Regions from separate parts of the Homo sapiens genome. Here regions 2, 3, 4, 5 and 6 are each linked to region 1. Evidence: promoter capture Hi-C in 16 types of primary human blood cells and fetal thymus (Javierre and others, 2016). All regions are on one chromosome and are shown on one strand. Each heading gives the region's core, a stretch centred on a gene start or on the middle of the fragment in contact. The rest is flanking DNA. Distances are from core to core; before and after follow the strand shown.

Region 1 (4,002 bases), core at 1,448-3,947:
TAGTGGTCAGGTGAGATGGGACTTATTATGTTCCCCTAAGTATCCCCTAGCTCAGGACTCTTACATTACAAAGGCCCCAAAATTTTAAGAAAGATCTTCCAGGCTTCAGTCTCAATCTTTCCTCTTTCCGAATTTTCTATTTTTCCAGGTCAGGCTAACTGATTGGATTGATTGGGTTTTAGCAAGGAAGCTTGAGGGTGAAGTAGTTCTTTTTAAGTATCCTCTCTCAAGGAGATCATTTGTATTTCTGGCTGGACTTATAGAACAATGCTTTTCAACTGATTTCATGTGATCAGACACAGAAAATAATGGTATCTTTATGGCATACATGGTGTCACAGAAAAGACTGTGGCTATCCATGCCTGCAGGCTATGGGTTCTCTGGGCCCTACCCTGCTACTCTGAAGAAATAAACATCTCAGGCCAACTGTAACCTGTTTTCAGTGGATTTCCCTTTCTCACCTTTGGGGAGCTGTAATTTAAATAAAGAAGGTAACTAGCTCCAGGTGCCTCCCTGGAATAGAAGCCCCCTTGGACTACTTATTTTTTTGCTGGGATATGGAAATTAGACAAGTGTTCCTACTGGTTCATGTTGCCCTTTGAAGTTTCAGTGCTATCTGCCAAATGCACAGAACTGGAGCAGTAGGACTATTTACGATTCATGTTTCCTATTGAAATACTGTTCTTAGCTACTAAGTACTAAGGTACTTTTGTGTAAAGCATTGAGACATGACTCTGCATGCTAGGTGTTGAGTGCACAGTGATAGTGGTAGACAAGTATTGGTTTCCAAATTTGACAGTTTTCCAATTTGGTGTGATTACCTTAAGTCCAGCTATACCAGAGTGTTTTCTTCAAGGCTTACAATAGTGAAAGATAACAATTAAATTTTTAAGAGTAATTACTGTCAGTAGCAGCATAAACTTTCTTCCCTTTATTCTTATGACAGCTTGAGTCTTCATCCTTTAGGTCCCAGTTTAAATATAATCGGGAAGACTTTTCACACTAACTCATGTAAGTGTTCCTGTCATTCTGTTAGTTCCTCCCCCTTTTTTTTGGCTAGTTTTTCTTGGGACTTTGCATATATACATATTTGTTTGTTTCTGGTCTGTTAGTCCCATTAGTGTATAAGCTCCTTGAGAGGAGGTTCCATGTCCAGCTTATTCACAATCGTACCCTAGGTTTCCAGTATAAAGCCTAACAAACAATGCATTTAATCAATGACATTCTTGACATTTTTGTGAAGAGCATTTATTTGATACTTAATTTTTCTTTTTTTTTTTTTGAGACAGGGTCTTGCTGTGTCACCCAGGGTGGAGTGTGGTGGGGCAGTCATGGCTTACTGCAGTCTCCACCCCCTTGGCTCAAGTGATTCTTCCACCTCAGCCTCCTTAGTAGCTGGAACTACAGGTGCACACCACCATACCCAGCCAATTTTTAAAATTCTTGTAGAGACAGAGGTCTCACTTTGTTGCCCAGGCTGGTCTCAAACTCCTGGCCTCAAGTGATTAAATTTTTAAAATAATGTATTTTTTCTTTATTTTTCCAATTTATATAAAAATGGAAATATTTTTTATTATTCATTAACGTTGGGTAACACTTTATATAAACTTTCCCTTTGTGTTATATGGAAGTCTAAATTTACAGAATACTTTAAAACCCCACGGCAACACAAAACCCACATTTGTCCGTGTTCCTTCCATAATTTGAAAACTTTGCCTTTTTCCCTTACACTGACTTGAAGCCTGGCAGCTTGGGCCTAATTTACAAGGCACTAAGTAAGTACTCTCTTAAAAAACAGAGAGTGAGGATGCCCTGTTTCACAACTTAATTCCAAAAAGCCAAGTCAGACGAAATCGACCCACTTTCCTGCTAAGGGTTTGTCCCAAGAGGCGAGCTCTTCTCTGTCCGCTCCAGCCAAGCTGGCCGATTGCCCCTGAGCACTGGACACAACCTTGGTGTCCCGGTTTCGGGTCAGGGTTACTTTCCAATTGTTAGGCACGACTTTGTGCGTGCGTGCGAGACTGTGGACTCGGAGGTGCGCATTTGGGGCGTAGCCGAGCCATTTAAACCAGCGAATCCGCGTTCACCTTGTCCTTCCACCTCTGCCCTATCTCGGCAGATGCTCCACGGATTTGCACGAACTCCCGAGTCTTGACCTCCCTCCCCTCTCCGGGCTGCCGGGACAACTCGGGGCGGCCACTCTTGCCAGGAGGCGTAAGTAAGGATGAAGTTGGAAAAACTGAACTAGGTCTAGGGCACGCTCTGCAACACAGTCGGGGAGACGCTTCAGAGGGCCGGAGAGGGAGGCAAGTTGCCACGGCGCGAAGGGGGCGGGCCGGCTTGGGCCGCTCGCATTTCCTGTGACAGGGGCTGCCCCAGCCTCTCCTTCTCCCGCGGCGGCGGGACCATTTCCTGAATCGCTGAAGCGGAGGGAGGACTAGGGCGCGACTCTACCATTAGCGCAAAGGGCCAGGGGGTGCCCATAAGGAGAGCTCGGGGGATGCAGGGACGGTCAAGAAAGTTCGGCCAGGGCTAGGGGTCCCCCAGAGTGCGCAGAAGCGAGACATCCCTGGCCAGAGTGCCTCCTTCAGGCCTGCCCCGCCGCCCGTCCGCTTGGCCCCGGAGCATCCCCCCTCCCCGCATTCCCGAGGTGGTTCAGCCCGAGAGGCCGGCGTCTCTCCCCCAGTTTGCCGTTCACCCGGAGCGCTCGGGACTTGCCGATAGTGGTGACGGCGGCAACATGTCTGTGGCTTTCGCGGCCCCGAGGCAGCGAGGCAAGGGGGAGATCACTCCCGCTGCGATTCAGAAGGTGAAACCGCGCGGGGTTGCGGATGCCAGGCCCTTACCGCCTCTGGGAGAGACAGACGCGGGGGGAAGGGCCGGGCCCGGAGTCGACCGGGCCGAGGCGGAGGCGGGCCTGCTGGGAATCAGCAGTGTTTGGGAACACGGACTGCTGGCTGTGCCTGAGTGGGTGGCGGAAGAGGGTGAACCGGTTTTTCTCGGAGTCTTTCACGCATTTACGCGTTTTTCTACAGACACAAAAGCCCAAACAGCCGCCGCCTGATTTCTCTAGGGATGGGGCGGCGTTCGGGCTGCGGGGCGCGTGCGCCCGGCGGCGGCCGCTCAGGGAAGGGCGTGTGTCGGACCGGCGGCCCCGCGCGTTGCTCCGGAGTTACTTTGGCGTCGCCCCGCCCCGCGTGCCGCGGCTGCTTCGTGCGGACCCCACCGCGGGTCGCGGCAGGCAGAGGGGAAGTCGGTGCGCTGGTCGCCGCCCTGCAAACTCAGCCGAGTTTGGGAGCTCGCAGGAGGACTTGGGGAACGCTGGAGGGAACCTTAGTATAGAGTTTGAGGAGCGGGCAAGGAAGGTCCCCATGGACTCTGGGGTTGTCCCCAGAGCCTCTTCTTCCCTTCTGCATCGCCGCCTATTCATTTATTCTGCAGCAAATATTTATTGAGCGCCTATTTTAGGCGCTGAGGCTACTGTGGTGAGTCATGGTCCTTGCCTTCCTGGAGCTTACAGTCTAATGGTGGAGACTGTCGTGACCAGTTAATGTAAGTCGTGATAAATACACAGGGAGCTGCCTCCTTTTTAAAGGATAGAGCTGCTGCAGTCGCTGCTGTGTTACTGCCAGTCGGAACACAAAGGTTCTTTATTGTCCTCTACCCCTTGTTGCCTGCAAGCAAGGCAGCATTCTAAATTTTACTGACCTAGACTTTCAGAAGTTGCTGCTGTATTTAGCAGTTTACTTTAAATATTTTTGTTTTGTTTTATGCTGTGTAGCAAAGATCAAAATAGAAAAAAAGGTCAAGTTTTAGTACCACTCAGACCACGTAGATTATGCTAATCGGTTTCTGTTTACTGTCAGGTTCTTCGTAGTGTGGCTTTTGACATTTGCCCAACTGTTGCTTTATTTTATGAACAAACGGGCTTGGCAGTGCCTGGAAATGCAGTGCTTTCATATAGTGCTCTGAGTTAAGTCTGCAGCCTGGCAAACAGCTCCA
Region 2 (4,014 bases), core at 290-2,789, 160 kb before region 1:
GCTGTAATACTGTGTACTATAACAGTCAAGAGGGCTACTAAGTAACTAATAGGTAGGTAAGTGTACAGAGTGTCAATACACTGGACAAAGGAATGATTCACATTTCAGGCAGGATGCAGTGGAATGGAGGGAGATTTCATCACGATACTCAGAATGGCACACGATTTAAAACAAATTGTTTATTTCTGGAATTTTCCACTTAATATTTTTGGAGGCAGTTGACCATGGGTAAATGAAACCATTAGATAAGGGAAGAGGAACTACTATATATAGAAAATCCTAATGAACCCTCTAAAAAACTATTAGAAGTAATCAATTTAGCATGGTAGCAGGATACAAGATCAATATTCAATAATCAACTGTATTTTTATACACTTGCAATGAATAACCATAAATGAAATTAAGAAAATGATTCTATTCACAATAGCACCAAAAAGAATAATATACTTCAAGGATAAATTTAACAAAGTACAAAACTAACACTATGAAAACTAAGAAATGTCTTCATACTTTAATTACTTTCAACATGTAAAAAACACGTTGAAAAACGTATGTTGAAAGTAATTACAGAAGATCTAAATAAATGGAAAGAGATCCATGTTCATGGATGGGTAAACCTCAGACCCACCTCACTGGATTGTTAAAGGAACCAAATGAGACAATATATGTGAGAGGATTTTTGAATTTTTGAGCAGGTAGCTATTAATGCCAAGAGGTCCACAATTCAAACTTTTCTTCAACTAAGTACTCAAAACATCAGTAGGAGGCAATATTAGAATAGCTGTAGACAGGCAATGCTGAGAATAAAATAACCAGCTCATCTTCAGACCAAAGTGTTTTCAAGATGCAAAACACTCCTTTTGCAACCTTAACCAATTATTTATCTCAAAGGCCCAATGCCAATGAGAAGCAATAATATAATAGAAAGCACTTAAAAACAAAGGGAAACTGAATGTTAGTCTCTTCTCTGAAGACCAGTGACCAAGTTTCTTTGAATCCAATCCTGATAAGTATCTGAGACTCACTTTTTCCAATCATAAAAGAATGGCCTGTTTATTCTACAAGCATATTGACAGAATGTAATCATATATTAGGTTACATAGCACCGTTCCTCTATAAATATTAAGATATTAAAGTGTATCGTGGTCCAGTGTCCACTCTCTACTTGGTACATGATTTACATATTCTACCCTTCAGCCCAGTGAACTGCTACATCCCAACATCCAAAAATGCCAATTTCTTGGTGTCAAGCTGATCTGAATGGAAGTTCTCTGACTTCTCCACATTCACAGCATTTGTAAATACTGCCCCTGAAAAAATAGCAGATCCTTACAAATCTAAGAGCCTTAAAGATGCTAGAATTCATCTATTACAATTTAATACATATACAGAATGCCTCACTAGTCACCTTTTAGCCTCTTTTCAAATAGTCCAGGGTTAGGAAAACGCAGATTTCTTTGTGTCACTCTTTCACAAGCAGATCACGAATATAAGTCCTTCCTTAATATGGAACCAAACGTGCCTCCCATTAATATCCAGAGATGTGAGGGTACCTTCTGCAACCACACAGAATAAGCCCACTCTCATTTCCATAGGACTGGAAACACTTAGACGCTAAGTTGTTTCCTTCCTCAGGCACTAGAGGCCAAATTTCTTCCATTTTTCACGTCACAGTTTTCCTTACAAAGAGCTTAAAGTCACTTAAATTTCCCTCATTTCCTGAATTGAATAAATAAAAGAAAAAATTAAAGCAATCAAGAAGTTTATATCCCAGGTCGTGCTATTAGTTATGGTATATCTCCCCTATCCTCCATTTACACAGCTGATTTGCCAAAATTGAGCTTCTATTTATCTCTATTAAATTTCATTTTTTAAGGATAGGTTGTTAGATTTCAGGTGATGTTTACTTTCTTCTTTTTACTTTCCATATTTGTTGGTCTTTTTATATGTATGTATTATTTTACAAAAATAAGTTTGTTAGACAAAAACTAAACCCACAGAATATCTACCCTATTTATTACTGCATCTATGGCACTTAGCGTAGAATCCAGGATATAGTTAGCACTGATCACATTGGTAATCTCAGCACTTTGGAAGGCTGAGGTGGGTGGATCGCTTCAGCTCAGGAGTTCAAAACCAGCCTGGGCGAAATGGTGAAACCCCATCTCTACAAAAAAAAATTTTTTTTTTTTTTTTTTTGAGATGGAGTCTCGCTCTGTTGCCCAGGCTGGAGTGCAGTGGCGTGATCTCGGCTCACTGCAAGCTCCGCCTCCCGGGTTCACGCTATTCTCCTGCCTCAGCCTCTCGAGTAGCTCGGACTACAGGCGCCTGCTACCATGCCTGGCTAATTTTTTGTATTTGTAGTAGAGACAGGGTTTCACCGTGTTAGCCAGGACAGTCTCGATCTCCTGACCTCGTGATCCGCCTGCCTCGGCCTCCCAAAGTGCTGGGATAGGAGGCGTGAGCCACCGCGCCCAGCACAAAAATTTTTATAATTAGCTAAGCCTGGTGGTACCTGCCTGTGGTCCCAGCTACTTGGGAGGCTGAGGCAAGGAACACTTGAGCTCAGGAGTTTGAGGCTGCAGTGAGCCATGTTCGAGCCACTCCACTTCAGCCTGGGGGACAGAGTGAGACCCTGTTTCAAAAACAAACACAACAACAACAACAAAAACTGGACGGCTGCAGTGGCTCATGCCTGTAATTCCAGCACTTTGGGAGACCAAGGCAGGTGGATCACATAAAGCCAGAGGTTTGAGACCAGCCTGGCCAACATGGTGAAACCCTATCTCTATCAAAAATTCAAAAATTAGCCGGGCATGGTGGCATGTGCCTGTAATCCCAGCTACTTAGGAGGCTGGGGCAGGAGAATTGCTTGAACCCAGAAGGTGGAGATTATAATGAACTGAGGTCATGCCACTGCACTCCAGCCTAGGCGAAAGAAAGAATGAGACTTTGTCTCTAAAAAAAAATAAATAAAGTGTTGAGTTCACAATATAGAAAATTGTCACCATATAATGATAAGTGAAAATCAGGATATAAAAGTGGTATCACAGAATCCCAATTATGTGAAAAATAGAGAACGTGTGCATAACATTTTTATTTCCAAAGAGACAAAAAGCTTTTGGGAATGAAATGCTCTATATCTTAATTTCATTGGTGCTACACCTTTATTAAATGTTTCAGCACTCAATTCACCGTAAATGATCTTTTTTTTTTTTGAGAGAGAGAGAGAGTTTTGCTCTGTTGCCCAGGCTGGAGTGCAATCTTGGATCACTGCAACCTCTGCTCCTGGGTTCAAGCGATTCTCAAGCCTCTCCTCCCAAGTAGCTCACACTACAGGCATGTACCACAATACCCTGGCTAATTTTTGTGTATTTTTAGTAGAGACCGAGTTTTGCCATGTTGGCCTGGCTGGTCTCGAACTCCTGGCCTCAAGTAATCCACCTGCCTTGGCCTCCCAAAGTGGTGGGATTACAGGCATGAGCCACCGCACCCAGCCAGGTTCCTCTTTTTTTTTTTTTTTTTGATATGGAGTCTCGTTCTGTCACCAGATTGGAGTGCAGTGGCACAATCTCGGTTCACTGTAACCTCCAGCTCCCTGGTTCAAGTGATCCTCCTGCCTCAGCCTCCAGAGTAGCTGGGATTACAGGCACGTACCACCACGCCCAGCTAATTTTTGTATTTTTAGTAGAGATGGTGTTTCACCATGTTGGCCAGGATGGTCTTGATCTCCTGACGTCATGATCCACCCACCTCAGCCTCCCAAAGTGCTGGGATTACAGGCGTGAGCCACTGCGCCCAGCCTAGGTTCCCCTTTTTTAATAACAAAAATTTTACCTCAATAAAGATGACATTTAAAAAGGAGATTAGGGGCCAGGTGCAGTCGCTCACGCCTGTAATCCCAGCACTTTGGGAGGCTAAGGCAGGAAGATCACTTGAGCCCAGGAGTTCAAGGCCAGCCTGGGAAACAGTGAGATCCCAAATGTACCAAAAAAAAAAAAAAATTAGCTGGGC
Region 3 (3,520 bases), core at 349-2,848, 250 kb before region 1:
GTATATTCAGTTCTCAGTCAGTCCTGCAGAACTCGTGTATATGAAAAGTCAGCCCTCCACATATGTGGGTTTTGCATCCTGCACATAGTGTATTTTCCATCCACAAGTGGTTGAAAAAAATCCACATATAAGTGGACCTGTACACTTCAAACCTATGTCAACTGTATTATGAAACTCTGGGTATTCTAGAAATCCTTTGGAGAATGTTAATACCTTTGTTTTAGCATGCAATCAACACAGGTTCAAGCCACAGGTTCCAATGTGACTTCTGTGATCTGTGGCTACAACGTCAGCTCAGTTTTCAAAGCTTTTGCAATGTTATTTGGATCTGCCCTGTGCATCCCCCAGTGGTCAATCTGGGATCTGGTGGTGGTTTGTTGGTCCAGTTCTTAAAGGCTTTGGTACGCTCATTAGAATAAGATCCACATATGGCAAATGTATAGTTCAGGAGTAGGTCTAGGAGTTTAACACAATCACATGGGGTTGCTTTCCTGAGCTCCTCCCTCTCTGTCATCTTCCCAGTAATTTCTGGTTCCCTGGAGCTCCTCCTGGCCAGAAAGCTGGGGATTTAGCCCACTTTCCCACCCACGTCTGTGATTGCATCCAGGTCTAGAATCAAGCAGTAGGAAGAATGGGGGTAGGGGATGGAGGGTGGCAACCTCACCACCAGTTCAAGTAGTATTTTGAATTCTTATCTTCTTCCCCAATCTGTTTACTATTTACCTTTCAATGTCCTCAAATAGCTGCTCCATGCATCTGTTCAGGTTTTATAGTTGTATTCAGTGGGAGAGAAAATATGAAGTGTTTTTACTCCATCTTAACTGGAACTCTTTAATAGCCAGAATTCTGACAATTGGTTTCTGTTATATTATATACTGACTAGCCTTTGTTTAATAAAATGTAAGACTGCTTGCTCACCAACACCAGCAACAAACACCTTGCTCCAAAGAGACCAAACAGGTTTGGGAGGTTCTCTTTTAAGAATATGCTATTTCCTTTATGGCTAATGAAAAAGGCAGAAGCCTTCATTTCTCTTTTCACAGTCTCTATGATAGGAAGTAGAAGTCTCTAAAATTCAAGGTAGTGCCTTAGAAGGCAACTAAGCAACAGTAATTGAAGATTATTTTATTTCTGGTGTTAGGTACTCATCTCTTCATTTATAAGTATAACTCATGGTAGTACAGCCTTTAATCAAGACCCAAAAAACATTAAGAAATTACTTTGAAGATCACACAAGTTCTCAGAGGTAACGTTCAATAGACGTACTTCTTGATGCTAAGCACATAATTTTCAAGAATAAAAGGAAAATTAAAAACTATTGAAAACAGAAACCAAAAGATTAAGCAGAATCAGAGGTACTAGCTGAAGAATGAATAAACCAAGTTTCATATTAGCTAACAGCCTGGACAGGAACAGGGGCACATTTAACAGGAAGAACCAAATTTATCTAGATAGTTATGATATAGACAATATGGGAAATCAAAAAATGTTTTTCTTTCTCATGCTTAAGGAAAGTGTTAGTAGCAATGAAAATAATCACACCACCAAATAGGAATGTATGAAAAAATCTAAAGAAATTAGAGAAACAAAGTGTATCACACCAGGTTTTGAACTCAGGATAAAAGAACTAAGAATAATGTCCTGCTTAGATTTCACAATTAACGTTAAGTACACATAAAGGTAAAAACAAAACCCTAACACCAAACAATGGAAATGTTTTAAATAGTAAAAATTTAAATTGAATTAGATATACTTTGGAAAATTTCATGGATCAAACTCTAAAATTCTTAACAATGCTGATAATTACATCTGAATCATTACTTAAAAGATCAAGTTTACCAGGGAATGCAAGGTTAAATGCTAAAATAAACAAAACAAACAAACAGGAAAAAAAAACTACTAAACATTAACAGCTGAATCTTAAGTCAAGGGAACCAAAAAGCAAGTTGCAAATTTTTAAAAAATCACCAGTCCACCTTATCTTAACTTCAAGGATACCACAACCGAAATACAAGATCTTTTTTAAGCCCTCAAAGACAATTATTAGCAGTCATTCCACCAAATCAAACAGTTTAGAATCTATTTTTTTTTCTCCCAACCACTAAGGCTGGTTATTATGATACCAGGACACTGTCCAGAACATCTGAGATTCCTGGAATTTGATACGTAAACTGTGGTGCCTTGCTGGTCAACCCTACTCATCCATCCCTACCTTCCTGAAAAAAATGGTATATTCCTCATAATCTCAATTAGACACCTTCTCTCTTTAACTTAAACCAATAACATTTGATTTATAAATTGTGTAAAATATAAATGTGCTACAGTTATTCTATATTACAAAATTTTTTTTTCAGTTGTCATCCTTACACTCTTTTTTCTTCTCATTTTCTTTCCAGTCCTCTGGAAGGAAAGAAAGAACATATTCATGGTCTATCTCAAACCTAAATCTAAGAGCTCAATGACATCTATCTTAAATGTTCCTACAGTTAGTGTTTATAAACTACTGGTTTTTTCTTTTATGCCTCGCCTTCCCCTAAATTATGACAATCTTATAAGCAGAGCAGGAATCGTTAAGTTCATTTAAATATGAGGAAACAGAGGTAAGTTCAAAGAATTAAATCAAGCTCTTGATAATGGCAGCCTGAATCTAGAATCCAAGATACTTTACTTCCAGTTCAATGCTATTTTTTTTTTAAACAGGCATCTTTCTACTAAGAGAGTAATAAGTCTCTCAAAACACATAGATCCTACACATCAAAATAAAGTATGCACGCAATCTTCTTATGAATCTCTAATATTTTCTTTTCCATTTAAGGTATACCAGTAAAGAAATACTACCATTAAAGTTATCTTGTAAAAATATCCATGAAGGAAACCTAGTGAAGCTTTCATGGTTCCAAGAGAACCTAATGAATGATAATTGGATGATAAATGAACTATGACAGTTCAAGAGGCCAAATCTCAGATTCCCAAATCACAGTATTTTGACCATTTAGTTAGTGGGAAAATAAAAGTGATGACTTTTAAAGCCCCCCTTCTTTCTCATCCTAGATCAATGATTCTCAGTGTGATCTGCAGAGCAGCAGCAGCAATAGCAGCAACATCTGGTAATTTATTGGAAATCCCATTTTCAAGTCCTACCCTAGACCTACTACAGTATTATAAACTCTGGTTGTGGGACCTAGTAATCTGTATTTTAACAAGCTCTCCAGATAATTTTATGCATGTCAACGTTTGAGAACCACTGTCCTAGACTATCAATGCTTTGAAACCTTTCAATCTGTTTCTCTGCTGTCATACACAAGTTATTTATAACTTGTCATTTTAAGAATGTCTTCCTCTTGCTATATTAATTTGATTGCTAGAATGTACTTTTCATGACAAGTTTCATTTGTCCCTGTCCAGTACTCCATGAGTTTTGGCCATGTAGAACTTGCATGAAGTTTAAATACAAATTGATATAATTTAATAGTTTACCTATCACCTTTCATTGACTTCATATATTTTCAAATTTCATTTT
Region 4 (3,675 bases), core at 420-2,919, 180 kb before region 1:
CTGAACAGCTGCTGAGTTCTCTGCTTTAAGATTGGGCTCATTTGAAGGAGTGGATGATGCTCCCAAACTTGAAGGCTTCAGGGTAGTTACAGTATTCAATGGCTTTCCAGGAGTAACTGTGACGACACTGGTTGGCACAGCCACAGACTGAAATTAAAGGTATTAAATATTTAGGCATGTATTACTATGATACATTAGTGGGTGCCTCATTTCACACTCATCAGACAAGTTAATTTTGACATCTGTGGTTTTATGTTATGCTCTAGTAGTCTAAGGCAATATAATACAGTTCTAGGAACTCTTGAGTCTAGCAGATCTGGGTTTCATTCTCACCCCATCTACTATTTCATTACCACCTACCAAGTGTTGACTGCAGGCAAGTTACTTAATCTTGCTAATCCTGATTACTCTCTGCAAAAATAGGGATTGCAACGGTACCTGCTGTCCTAGGATTTTTTGTGAAAAACAGTGCTAAAGCAAATAAGTCCTCAAAAAATATTATTAATACTCCAAGAAGTATCTGAAAGTCTTTATGAGAACATAGAATATTCTGCTTTTTCTTAAGAACAAAGCAGAGCAATCTACTTATTATCTAAAATTTAGATAAACTGCTTTTATGTAGACCATTAAAGTAAGCATGAAGAATATTATAAAACGTGGTATCTTATATTCACACTGAAAAGAATTTCAGTTGTTTCTCTACCTTCTATCAAAATGAGGTGTGACTCTAGCTAGCATCACCTACAGGACAAAAACCTCATACAAGCAATCACAAGTCAGGCAGTAATTTAGAAAATCACATTGAGATAAAGCAACAATCTTAAAGACAAACACTAAAAGTTACAGAACATAATAAAAGTTTGGGGATCAGGGATAAGGAATAGTATTTACATACAATTCACACAGAAAACTGAACAATGCACCATCATTTAATTTAAATGTCTATGTTCTACAAGCATGCAACACAAAAAGGTCAAGTTGCAATCACCTTCAAGAAAATTTCCTTCTATAATAGTCAAGATAGGTGAATTTGAATGTACAATAAAATCTCCCACATTAGAGAGACTGGAATATGTACTAGACAAGAATGTTCTGAGGGTAAAAAATGGGAAGAAGGACAAGTGCAGTGGCTCACACTTACAATACCAGCACTTTGGAAGGCTGAGCCAGGAGGATTGCTTGAGGACAGGAGTTCGAGACCAGTCTGGGTAACCTAACAAGACCCTGTCTCTAGAAAAAAATTTTCTTTACAAACAGGAAGAACATTTAAAATGCTGAGAATTGATAGAAGGAGAGGAGTGGGGACACATGGTGGCCCTAACATGGGTTTGGGGTATATGGGCCTTCATTTTACTATTATTTTTTTCAACAGCAGACATATTACATATGTGTACATATTACATATGTGTACATATCACATGTAGTCTTGTTTGCATGTATATTTCATAATGCATAATAAAAATATTAAATACCATATGCTAATACATTTGAAACAAAACCAAAAGGGTTTTTGGAAAAACATGAAATGACAAAATTAGCACAAAACACAGAAACTAGAATAGACAAATTAAAGACATTGAAATGATACCCAAAAAGACCTCCCTCCCTCAAGTCTCCAGGCTCAGATATTTTCCATGTGATTTTTCCACACTTTTGCATAACTCCTGTCTTATACAACATGTTCTAGAAAAACAGAATAGGGAAAGCTGTTCAGTTCATTTTATGAGAAAGGTCTGTAACATATTTCAATATTGAATAAGGATAATAAAAGAAAAGTAAACTAAAGGCTCACCTGGCAAAAACTTTAATAAGATTTTAAAATTACTGATTAATGATGAGGACTAGAACAATAAAGTTTTTAACAAAAGAGATAAAATTAAAAATTACACCTAAGTTAGTACAATTTTGTTAAATATAGAGCCTCAAATGCACATTCAAAAGGAAGTCTCCCTCCTTTTCATATCTTTAGTCCTGCTCTCCAACCTACCACTCAGTTTCTTCTGAATTCTTGTGGAGATTTTCTAATAAATTTTTAGTTTTCTATACAGTAAATAAGCCTCTTTCTTTAGTCTATCTTATAATCAGTCATTAACTCTCTGTACTGCCATATTTAAGAAAGTGTAATCTGGAATTTTAGCTGGTGGTTATGATCACCTCTGAGGACTGATGGGAGAGGTTCCTTGGGGGTGTACTGTCCCCCTCCCTCAGGAAGCAAACTAAGGTCCAACTGAAATGTGAGTTTAGGAAAAACGTCCTATCGTTTACAAGTAGAGGGGGCATTTATGGAATTCTATTTTCCTTGTCAATGTTTTATCCTGTCTCCAGTAAAAAAAAAATCTGTCCTTCATAACACTTTCTAGTATAGCTACTACTTGTATCTTACCACAGGGGTCCCCAACCCCTGTGCCGCGGGCGGGTATAGGTCTGTGGCCTGTCAGGAATAGAGACACACAGAGGAGGCAAGTGAGCATTACTGCCTGAGCTTTGCCTCCTGTCAGGCCAGCGGTGCCATTAGTCTCATAGCAGCATGAACCTTCTCGTGAACTGCACATGCAGGTGATTTAAGCTGCACTCTCCTCGTGAGAATCTAATGCCTGATGATCTTGATAGACGCAACCGGAAGATTAGGGGAAAGGTTCCAGAAGAATCCCCCACGCGCCTGCCCACTGGGAGGAGGAGGGGTGGAGCCTCAGGAAGATCAGGCCCTTTGCAAGGGGGAGGAGCCTGGCCTCTCCTGTTCCTGTGTGGTGACCCGAGATTCAATTTGTGAGATGGGGGCCTGCTAACGGGAACCCCTCTGGCTTTGCTGAGTTTTTTTTTTCTTTTCGCCTAATAAATTCCATTCCCCCTCACCCTTAAAAGTGTCTTTTTTTTTTTTTTTTTGAGACGGAGTCTGGCTCTGTCCACCAGGCTGGAGTGCAGTGGTGCGATCTCGGCTCACTGCAATCTCCGCCTCCTGGGTTCAAGTGATTCTCCTGCCTCAGCCTCCTGAGTAGCTGGGATGAGAGCCGCCCCCCACCACACCACCCGGCTCATTTTTGAATGTTTAGTAGAGACAGGGTTTCAACATGTTGGCCAAGCTGGTCTCAAACTCCTGACCTCAGGTGATCCACCTGCCTAGGCCTCCCAAAGTGCTGGGATTACAGGTGTGACTCACCATGCCTGGCCCAAAGTGTCTTAAACTCAATCACAACTCCGCCTTTGACTCAACAGACCAGCCAATGGTAACTTCAATGCTTTTCAAGGCTGCACTGACTGACTAGGCATGTCTTGAGGACAGGAGGAAAACGGACTGAAGTATATGTGAAATAAATGTGTGAAAACCAATTCTACACAGAGCCAATAAAATGAGTTGTATGGAAATTTAGAAGATGAAATAGCATTTCAAGGAGGGTCATTTTCTGTACCTGTCTGAAACAGCAATTGCTTTAGGTTTATTCACATTTAATTAGAAATACTAGTCATTTGCACATTAGATTCCAATCTAACAATGGGCCAAACTACATCTTCATCAAATACAAGGTAAAAGTGAACACAAGATTTCTAACTAGTTCTTGTGTTATATTTATCAGACTAAGCCTAATAGGAAAATACTTTCAAAATTTCTTAACACACACATTTGCATTTACAGTCTGACAATCAAGTACAAGGAGTTGTATCTTCTCTCATTTTTAA
Region 5 (3,689 bases), core at 510-3,009, 230 kb before region 1:
CAGAATGAATTTTAAAAAATGATCAAATTATATGCTGTCTATACTTTAGTTGAAACCATACCAATACGCTGAAAGTGAAAGGATGGAAAAAGATATTCCATGCAAGTAACAAACAAAAGAAAGTAATATCAGACAGTATAGACTTTAAGTACAAAACCCTTAAAAGAGACAAACAAGGACATTATTATATATTGATAAAAAGGTCAATTCATCAAGAAGATATACACATCAAACCAGACTTCTCAAATATATGAAGCAAACAAACATTGACAGAATTTTGTTTAAAAAACAATTCCACAGCATGGGCAACATAGTGAGCCCCTGTCTCAAAAAAAAAAAAAAAAAAATTAGTTGGGTGTGGTGGCACACGCCTGTTAGTCTTAGCTACTGGAAAGGCTGAGGTGGGAGGGTGGCTTGAGGTGGGAGGGTGCTTGAGTCCAGGAGTTCAAGGTTGCAATGAGCTATGATTGCACCACTGCACTCCAGCCTGGATGACAGAGTGAGACCCTGTCTCTAAAACAAAAAGAAAAATAGAGCTCCACAATAGTTGAAGATTTTAATACTGCACTTTCAATAATGAATAGAACATCCAGATGGATGATCAATAAGGAAACAGAGGACTTAACATTATAAACCAACTATATCTATCAGACATCTATGAAACAAGAGCAGAACACACATTCTTCTCAAGTGCACATGAAACATTTTCCAGGATACAATGTATGTTAAGTCATAAAACAAGCCTCAGTACATTTTAAATGAATGATTCATACAAAGTATCTTCTCTGACCACAACGGAATACAGCTAGAAACCAACAACAAAAGGAAAACTGGAAAATTCCCACATATTTGGAAATTAAACAACATACTCTACAGTCACAAAGAATCAAATAAATCTCAAAAGAAATGAGAAAATATTTAAAGATAAATGAAAACGACAACACAACATACCAAAACTTATGGAATGCAGTGAAAGCAGTACTCAGAGGGAAATGTATAGTAGTAAACGCCTACATTATAAAAGGAAGATCTCAAATAAAAAACCTAACTTTACATCTTATGAAACTAAAAAAAAAGAAGAGCAAACTAAGCCTGAAGCTTAGAAGGAAAATAATATAAAAACTAGAGTGGAGATACACGAAATCAAAAATAGAAAAACAGAAAATTAATAAAACCAAAAGTTGGTTATTTGAAAAGCTCAACAAAATCAACACACCATTCGCTTTACTAGCAAAGAAGAAAAAGAGAGAAGATGCAAATAACAAAAATCAGTAATGTAAGGGGGATCATTACCATTGACCTTACAGAAATAAAAGGTTACAAGACAGTATTATTAACAGTCCTATGCCAACAAATTAGATAACCTAGGAGAAATGAAAAAATTCCTAGAAACACAAAATTAATATCTTTATTTATTTTTGTGTGTTTCTAGGAATTATAAAATACTGATATTAATTTTTTGTTTTTTTCATAGCTTTTTCTCCTGTTGATCACATATTCCTAAGTCAGTCCAGCAAATTCTCACAAAGATTTATGCAAGTGAGGACCTTGGCAATCATATGTAGTTTTTCCAAAGTTCTAAATGGAAAGGAAAAAAAAATAAAATAATATGATTCCTCCAGGGAACTTACTGGTGGTGTAGTAGCTGACAATTTCCTAGTTTCCTTTAACCTTTGACTAGGATATCACGGCAATGACCATTCTTCCAAATTCAAAATCTCTTAAGGTTACCTACATACCATCTTGTTCAAAATCTAGCTATAAACATTTCTTGGAAAGAGGGAAACAGTTATCTTATTTATTTATTTATTTTCAACTCAGGTTACCTTCTCTTTTCATCCCTAATCACCCAATATATTCGCCCTCCTCCAAAACTACATCAAGTTATTTTACCTTGATAACAGCAAGTCATTTGGTTCATACCACTAGGGATACAAGCTATTCCTGTATTTAGTTTTTTTAATAAAAGTAGCCAATAACACTTAGTAGCATCAATATGAGCACTCAATGCAATCATTTAACTTATTAAAAGGAACAGAGGATGAACAAGTGGAAAGATCTAATGTAGAACATAAGGACTATGGTTAGTAATATATTGTTTTCAGGATTTCTGCTAAATGAGTAGATTATAGCTGCTTTTGCCACAGGGGAGAAAATGGGTAGATTTGAGATAATGAAAATGTTAACTTATTCAACTAAATAGTAATAATTTTACTATACATGTGTATCTTTAACACGTTGTATACCTTAAATATTAATATATACAATAAAATTTATTTTAAAATAAATCAATCTCTGGAAAACTGAAAGGCAAAAAAAAAAAAAGGAACAGGAATGCGAGGAGAGTGCAGAACACTGAAGAGAACACAAGTAGCCAATATTCCATTCTAACATATCTTTCCTTCCCCATCAAAAGCTTAAGAGAAGCCTCATGCAGAACAGATACATATTTCAATCTACAGTGACACAGAAGCTTTTAATATCATTTTAAACTCCATTTTAATTTTATTTGTCATGTAAGCTTATCTAAATAAGAATGAGACTTTGATTTTCCACTAATATGAAATATAAGCCTCAACCATTCCTTTAAAAACGTGTTTAGAATATCAATCCACGCCCAAAAGACTACCTATAACACTCGAGAGTTTATACTTCTTTAATGATTTCCTTTACCTTGTAAGTAGTCATTCGATGCTGAGCAATTGCAGTCAGTTTTTCTAGAAGGCCTCGTAGTCGTTCCTGTGTTGCTTGGGAGATCAAGTTCACAGCATCAGAGTTAAGTTCTGTAATGTCATGCTTTTTACCTGCAGAAGCAGAGAAAATCCATTACGTGTTTTAGTAGTGGCTGATAATTGAAATAATTAGCACAGCAGGTATTCTGTTCCCCCTGGAAGTCATACCCATTATGAATAAAGGTTTGGAGATTATGATTTTCCTAGTAAAGTCACAACTTCAAAGATCTTAGACATTACATTAATAAAACCTAGCCTGAAGCCTCAGAAAATATAGACATTGTTTCACTTAGCCTCTAGAATCATTCTCCTTGCAAGGTCATTTATAGGACAAAGTTAATAAGAACACAAATCAAGTCTATTGTTCAGGGAGGAAAATGGTAACTGCAGAAATTAGTACCATATTCTGTTAATTTTAGTAATTAAAAAAATAGAAAATTACATTTTGCCCTGTTTGACACTGTTAACAATTTATGACATTTATTTAAATGAATTCAGATTATGAGTCTCTGTTAATGCCTTGTCTACAAGACATACCTATATTCCTTTTGTCTATTACCAATCATGTTTACTTTGCATTAACTGATGTTCTGATATATTCACTTAGTAGTCAATTTACAAGTTCAAATGGGTTCAAAACCTCATCGTTTCACCTACCTATCTGAATAACTTCTCTCTCACTAGATTTCCTTTCCATAAAAAAATCAAACTTCTTCCTTCTGCTAACTAGCAAGAAAGTTTCAGGAAAACAATTTGGACCACATACTCAAAAGAGTCAGAAGTTCATTTATAAATCAACCTTGTCCGTAATTTAAATAGTACTTCTCAGCCCCAGTGAAACCACTTATATCAACAGAGGCTTAAATCTAAAGATACAGGCAATTAGGTCATCTGTTTTAAATAGGCTTTTTAAAAAGCACTACTGTGATTGTTTTTAACATATACACATGAATTTTT
Region 6 (3,887 bases), core at 1,248-3,747, 210 kb before region 1:
GGCTGAGGCACGAGAATCGTTTGAACCCAGCAGGTGGAGGTTGTGGTGAGCTGAGATCGCACCACTGCACTCCAGCCTGGGCAACAGAGTGAAACTGTATCTCAAAAAATAAAATAAAATAAAACAAAAACATATCACTAAAATGAAATTTGCCCTTTTTTAAATGGGAATTTACTATAAGATAAAGGTGGCATTGCAAATAAGAAAGTTAAAGATGATGAACTCTTTACTAACTATTGCTCAGACAATTCATTTGAGGAAAATTTAATCTCTGCCTCACACATTTACAAAAATAAAATCAAGAATTATTGAAGATATAAAGGTAAATATCTGTATTTGAGGTAAGTGCATACAAGTATCTTAGAAGAAGATACAGAAGGCACATCATTCTGGGCTCATAATACGAAAGGATACATTAGAATTCAAAAGCCATAAAGGAAGAGACTGCTAAACTTTATACTGTAATTTAAATTTTCCATATATGAAACACTAAAAACAAATTTCCAAGTTAAACAAAAAACTAGGAGAAAAATACTTACAATGTATATATCAAAGAATTACTACTGTCCAGCATATGTACATAAGTCTGGAAAGCAATAAGTAGTCAACAGATAAATGGGCGAAAGTAATAAGTCAGAAATTTCCCAAAGAAAATACTTATAGTGACATTTTTCCTTCAGGCAGTAAGTGGACTAGATTTACTGAGGAGCAATTACACAGCATAAGACATTTTCATTCCATTGTTTGGTTCACAGGACCTGTTAAAAAAAAGGTGTCAGTAAAAATCAGCAATAAGCATATCCTAAAGGAAGAATTGCCTCAAGGGCAAATGACTGTGGCTAGCACTAGTTCTTGATTACAATGGGAAAAGTGTATCTGAGACTCCTGGGTAAGTCAAGTTCCCAGGAAGAAGACTAAAGTGGTTCCAAGTCAATAGTAATCCCTGGGTCTACTAGAAACAGTCACAAATCCTCTCTGGAAGAAAGCAAACTCAGTTTAGACCCTCAGGTTTAATCTGATTTACCTGTCCCACAAAGTTTTAGATTTATTGACTACATTTTTTACTTCTAAAAGTCCTATTTGGTTCTTTTTCAAGTATTTGCAGTCATTTTTAAAAATAGTTTCTTGCTCATTCTTGAGATTCCGTATTTTATTTTTAAATACTTTATACTATTTTTTAACACTTACTATTTGATCATCCTATGTTTGAAGTCACTGGAATTCCAAATGTATTACTGTTTCCCTGTAGCTTGACTCAAGGATACTTCCTTGCATGTTTATCTTTAAATGTGAACATATATTTTATATGAACACCCAAAAACAATGGAATAACATCTTCAAAGCAAAAAAAAAAAAAAAACAGTCGACCTATAATTCTAATCTCAATCTTGACATTGTCTATATAAATAATCTAAAATCATCTAGAAATTATTAGAAATAATAACAAGGCTGTTGGTATATGATTTTTTTAAGTCCTGAATTTCTCTATGCTAGTAAAAGAAAAGGCAGTTACCAAAAATATTACTTATAATAACAACAAGAAAGATATCTAGGAATAAATCTAACAGATAAATGCAACAAATCATGCAGAATCTGCATAAATAAAATTATACTACTTTATTGAAAGATGTTTAAAAAGGTATATATAATGGAGATATAAATCATGTTCATAGAAGGATCCAAATTATAATAAATCAGCTGGAAGACAGTGGGCCTATGGACTCAGGCCACGCCAATTCAAATTCTAACAGATTACTGGTAGAATTTAACAAGTTGATCATTAAATGTATAGGGAATAGCAAAAGCCCAAGTAGAGCCAAGGAGTATGAAAGTGGAGGGAGTATGAAAGTGGAGGGGGTATGAAAGTGGAGGGGGTATGAAAGTGGAGGGGGTATGAAAGTGGAGGGAGGATGAAAGTGGAGGGAGGATGAAAGTGGAAGGGGTATGAAAGTGGAGGGGGTATGAAAGTGGAGGGAGGATGAAAGTGGAGGGGGTATGAAAGTGGAGGGAGGATGAAAGTGGAGGGGGTATGAAAGTGGAGGGAGGATGAAAGTGGAGGGGGTATGAAAGTGGAGGGGGTATGAAAGTAGAGGGAGGATGAAAGTGGAGGGAGGATGAAAGTGGAGGGAGGATGAAAGTGGAGGGAGGATGAAAGTGGAGGGAGGATGAAAGTGGAGGGGGTATGAAAGTGGAGGAGGTATGAAAGTGGAGGGAGGATGACAGTGGAGGGGGTATGAAAGCGGAGGGAGGATGAAAGCGGAGGGAGGATGAAAGTGGAGGGAGTATGAAAGTGGAGGGAGTATGAAAGTGGAGGGGGTATGAAAGTGGAGGGGGTATGAAAGTGGAGGGGGTATGAAAGTGGAGGGAGTATGAAAGTGGAGGGAGTATGAAAGTGGAGGGGGTATGAAAGTGGAGGGGGTATGAAAGTGGAGGGAGTATGAAAGTGGAGGGGGTATGAAAGTGGAGCGGGTATGAAAGTGGAGGAAGAAAAGGAAATAAAGAAGAAGGAGAAGTAGGTAGAAAATATGCATTACCAAATATAAAACTTCTTTTGAAATTATAGTAAATTAAACTGTATGCTATTGGAAATTTTAAAATTAACCAATAAAATGAAATAGAGATAAAAAAGATTAACTATTGATTAGAGGCATTTTAAAAAAAGAAAGATTAAAAAAAAGAGAAGATCCATATATATATGACATAGGAGACATTACAGATCACTGAGGAAGGACAAATTATTCAATAATGCTGCTAGAACAAGTGGTTTCCTATATGGGGAAAAACGAATCAGGATCTCTAAACCTCCAAACCATAGCAAAAACAAAAACCAAATTTTAACTCCTGAAGACAAAAAGATATTCAAATAGGCTGGGCATGATGGCTCACACCTGTAATCCCAGCACTTTGGGAGGATGCGGCAGGAGGATCACTTGAGGCCACCAGTTTGAAACCAGCCTGGACAACAAAGCGAGATCCTCATCTCTACAAAAAATTTAAAAACTAGCCAATTGTTATGGCGTGTACCTGTTGTCTTAGCTACTCTGGAGGCTTGTTTGAGTCCAGGAATTTGAGGTTGCAGTGAGGCATGATAGTGCCACTCAATGCACTCCAGCCTAGGTGACAGAGACCATTTCTCAAAAAAAAAAAAAAAAAAAAATTTAATATGAAACTTCAAAACTTTTAGAAGACAATATAGGAGACTATCTTTGTGATCTCCAGAAGGATCTCTAAAATAAGGCATAAGTATTAATCATAAAAGAAACTGCCAAATTCAACAACTTTAAAATTAAGAATTTCTGTTCATCAAAATATACCATAAAAGAAAGTAAATTGCAAAACACTAACTCTAGTAGATATGTGTAACACAAAAAAAGTATAAAGAATTAAAAAGGACTTCTGTTTCTGTTACAGACCATTGTAACCTCAAAACAATCAGACAATTGTTTTGAGGACAAGAAACTAATAAAGCCATAACAATTTTAAGTTTATTTGAAGGCATCAGAGAGCTGCCGAGGGAGCCAGGTCTTGAGGGACGACAGCCCTGAGAGAAGAGAACCTCACTGAAGTAACCCCAAATTTCTCCATGTTTTTTTTCCTCTGGGCACATGCTGATTCTTGACGTGGAACAAGACACTAAGAAACCACAGAGCCAGCAGCTGCTAAGAGGCAGAAAAGCCAACAGAGCATTAGGCAATCTCATGAGGAGAGAGAGAGACAAGAAGTTGAAGTCCAAGGCTGCCAGAACTTGAGGGATGAATGGACCATGATCCTATTAATAAGTGAGGCATTTACCAATGTTTTTCATACAGATCTGACATTTAATTAAATATTACCAAGTGCAGCAAAGAAACGGGATTAAAAAGCCAGATAATAGAAATAGAGTCACA

The links. Contacts are between HindIII fragments. The CHiCAGO score rates a contact against its expected background, and 5 or more counts as called.
Region 2: a contact is called between a fragment that was not itself captured here and the fragment with the promoter of SS18 in region 1, in 8 of 17 cell types (non-activated CD4 T cells, activated CD4 T cells, total CD8 T cells and 5 more). The highest score is 14.3, in non-activated CD4 T cells.
Region 3: a contact is called between a fragment that was not itself captured here and the fragment with the promoter of SS18 in region 1, in 7 of 17 cell types (activated CD4 T cells, naive CD4 T cells, non-activated CD4 T cells and 4 more). The highest score is 24.1, in activated CD4 T cells.
Region 4: a fragment that was not itself captured here is called in contact with the fragment with the promoter of SS18 in region 1 in 7 of 17 cell types (activated CD4 T cells, non-activated CD4 T cells, total CD8 T cells and 4 more); the score reaches 17.3 in activated CD4 T cells.
Region 5: a fragment that was not itself captured here is called in contact with the fragment with the promoter of SS18 in region 1 in 7 of 17 cell types (activated CD4 T cells, non-activated CD4 T cells, naive CD4 T cells and 4 more); the score reaches 22.4 in activated CD4 T cells.
Region 6: a contact is called between a fragment that was not itself captured here and the fragment with the promoter of SS18 in region 1, in 8 of 17 cell types (activated CD4 T cells, naive CD8 T cells, naive CD4 T cells and 5 more). The highest score is 23.1, in activated CD4 T cells.

The regions. Positions count from the first base shown.
Region 1 is chr18:26,089,308-26,093,309 of GRCh38, reverse strand. It overlaps SS18 (SS18 subunit of BAF chromatin remodeling complex), which reads left to right and starts at 2,697. Exons shown (of 11, transcript NM_001007559.3): 1 at 2,697-2,809. The coding sequence starts at 2,741. RefSeq lists an enhancer at 2,243-2,362. The HindIII fragment of the contact is 4,894 bases long and covers 193-4,002 here.
Region 2 is chr18:26,248,682-26,252,695 of GRCh38, reverse strand. All of the region lies in intron 1 of TAF4B (TATA-box binding protein associated factor 4b), which reads right to left. Among named protein-coding and RNA genes, the nearest start is that of TAF4B, 24 kb to the right of the region's middle. The HindIII fragment of the contact is 3,163 bases long and covers 1-3,120 here.
Region 3 is chr18:26,340,273-26,343,792 of GRCh38, reverse strand. All of the region lies in intron 13 of TAF4B (TATA-box binding protein associated factor 4b), which reads right to left. Among named protein-coding and RNA genes, the nearest start is that of LINC01543, 81 kb to the left of the region's middle. The HindIII fragment of the contact is 2,578 bases long and covers 310-2,887 here.
Region 4 is chr18:26,271,135-26,274,809 of GRCh38, reverse strand. TAF4B (TATA-box binding protein associated factor 4b) reads right to left here. Exons shown (of 15, transcript NM_005640.3): 4 at 1-147. Among named protein-coding and RNA genes, the nearest start is that of TAF4B, 47 kb to the right of the region's middle. The HindIII fragment of the contact is 4,735 bases long and covers 1-3,675 here.
Region 5 is chr18:26,320,185-26,323,873 of GRCh38, reverse strand. It overlaps TAF4B (TATA-box binding protein associated factor 4b), which reads right to left. Exons shown (of 15, transcript NM_005640.3): 11 at 2,674-2,804. Among named protein-coding and RNA genes, the nearest start is that of TAF4B, 96 kb to the right of the region's middle. The HindIII fragment of the contact is 1,318 bases long and covers 1,101-2,418 here.
Region 6 is chr18:26,301,642-26,305,528 of GRCh38, reverse strand. All of the region lies in intron 9 of TAF4B (TATA-box binding protein associated factor 4b), which reads right to left. Among named protein-coding and RNA genes, the nearest start is that of TAF4B, 77 kb to the right of the region's middle. The HindIII fragment of the contact is 6,908 bases long and covers 1-3,887 here.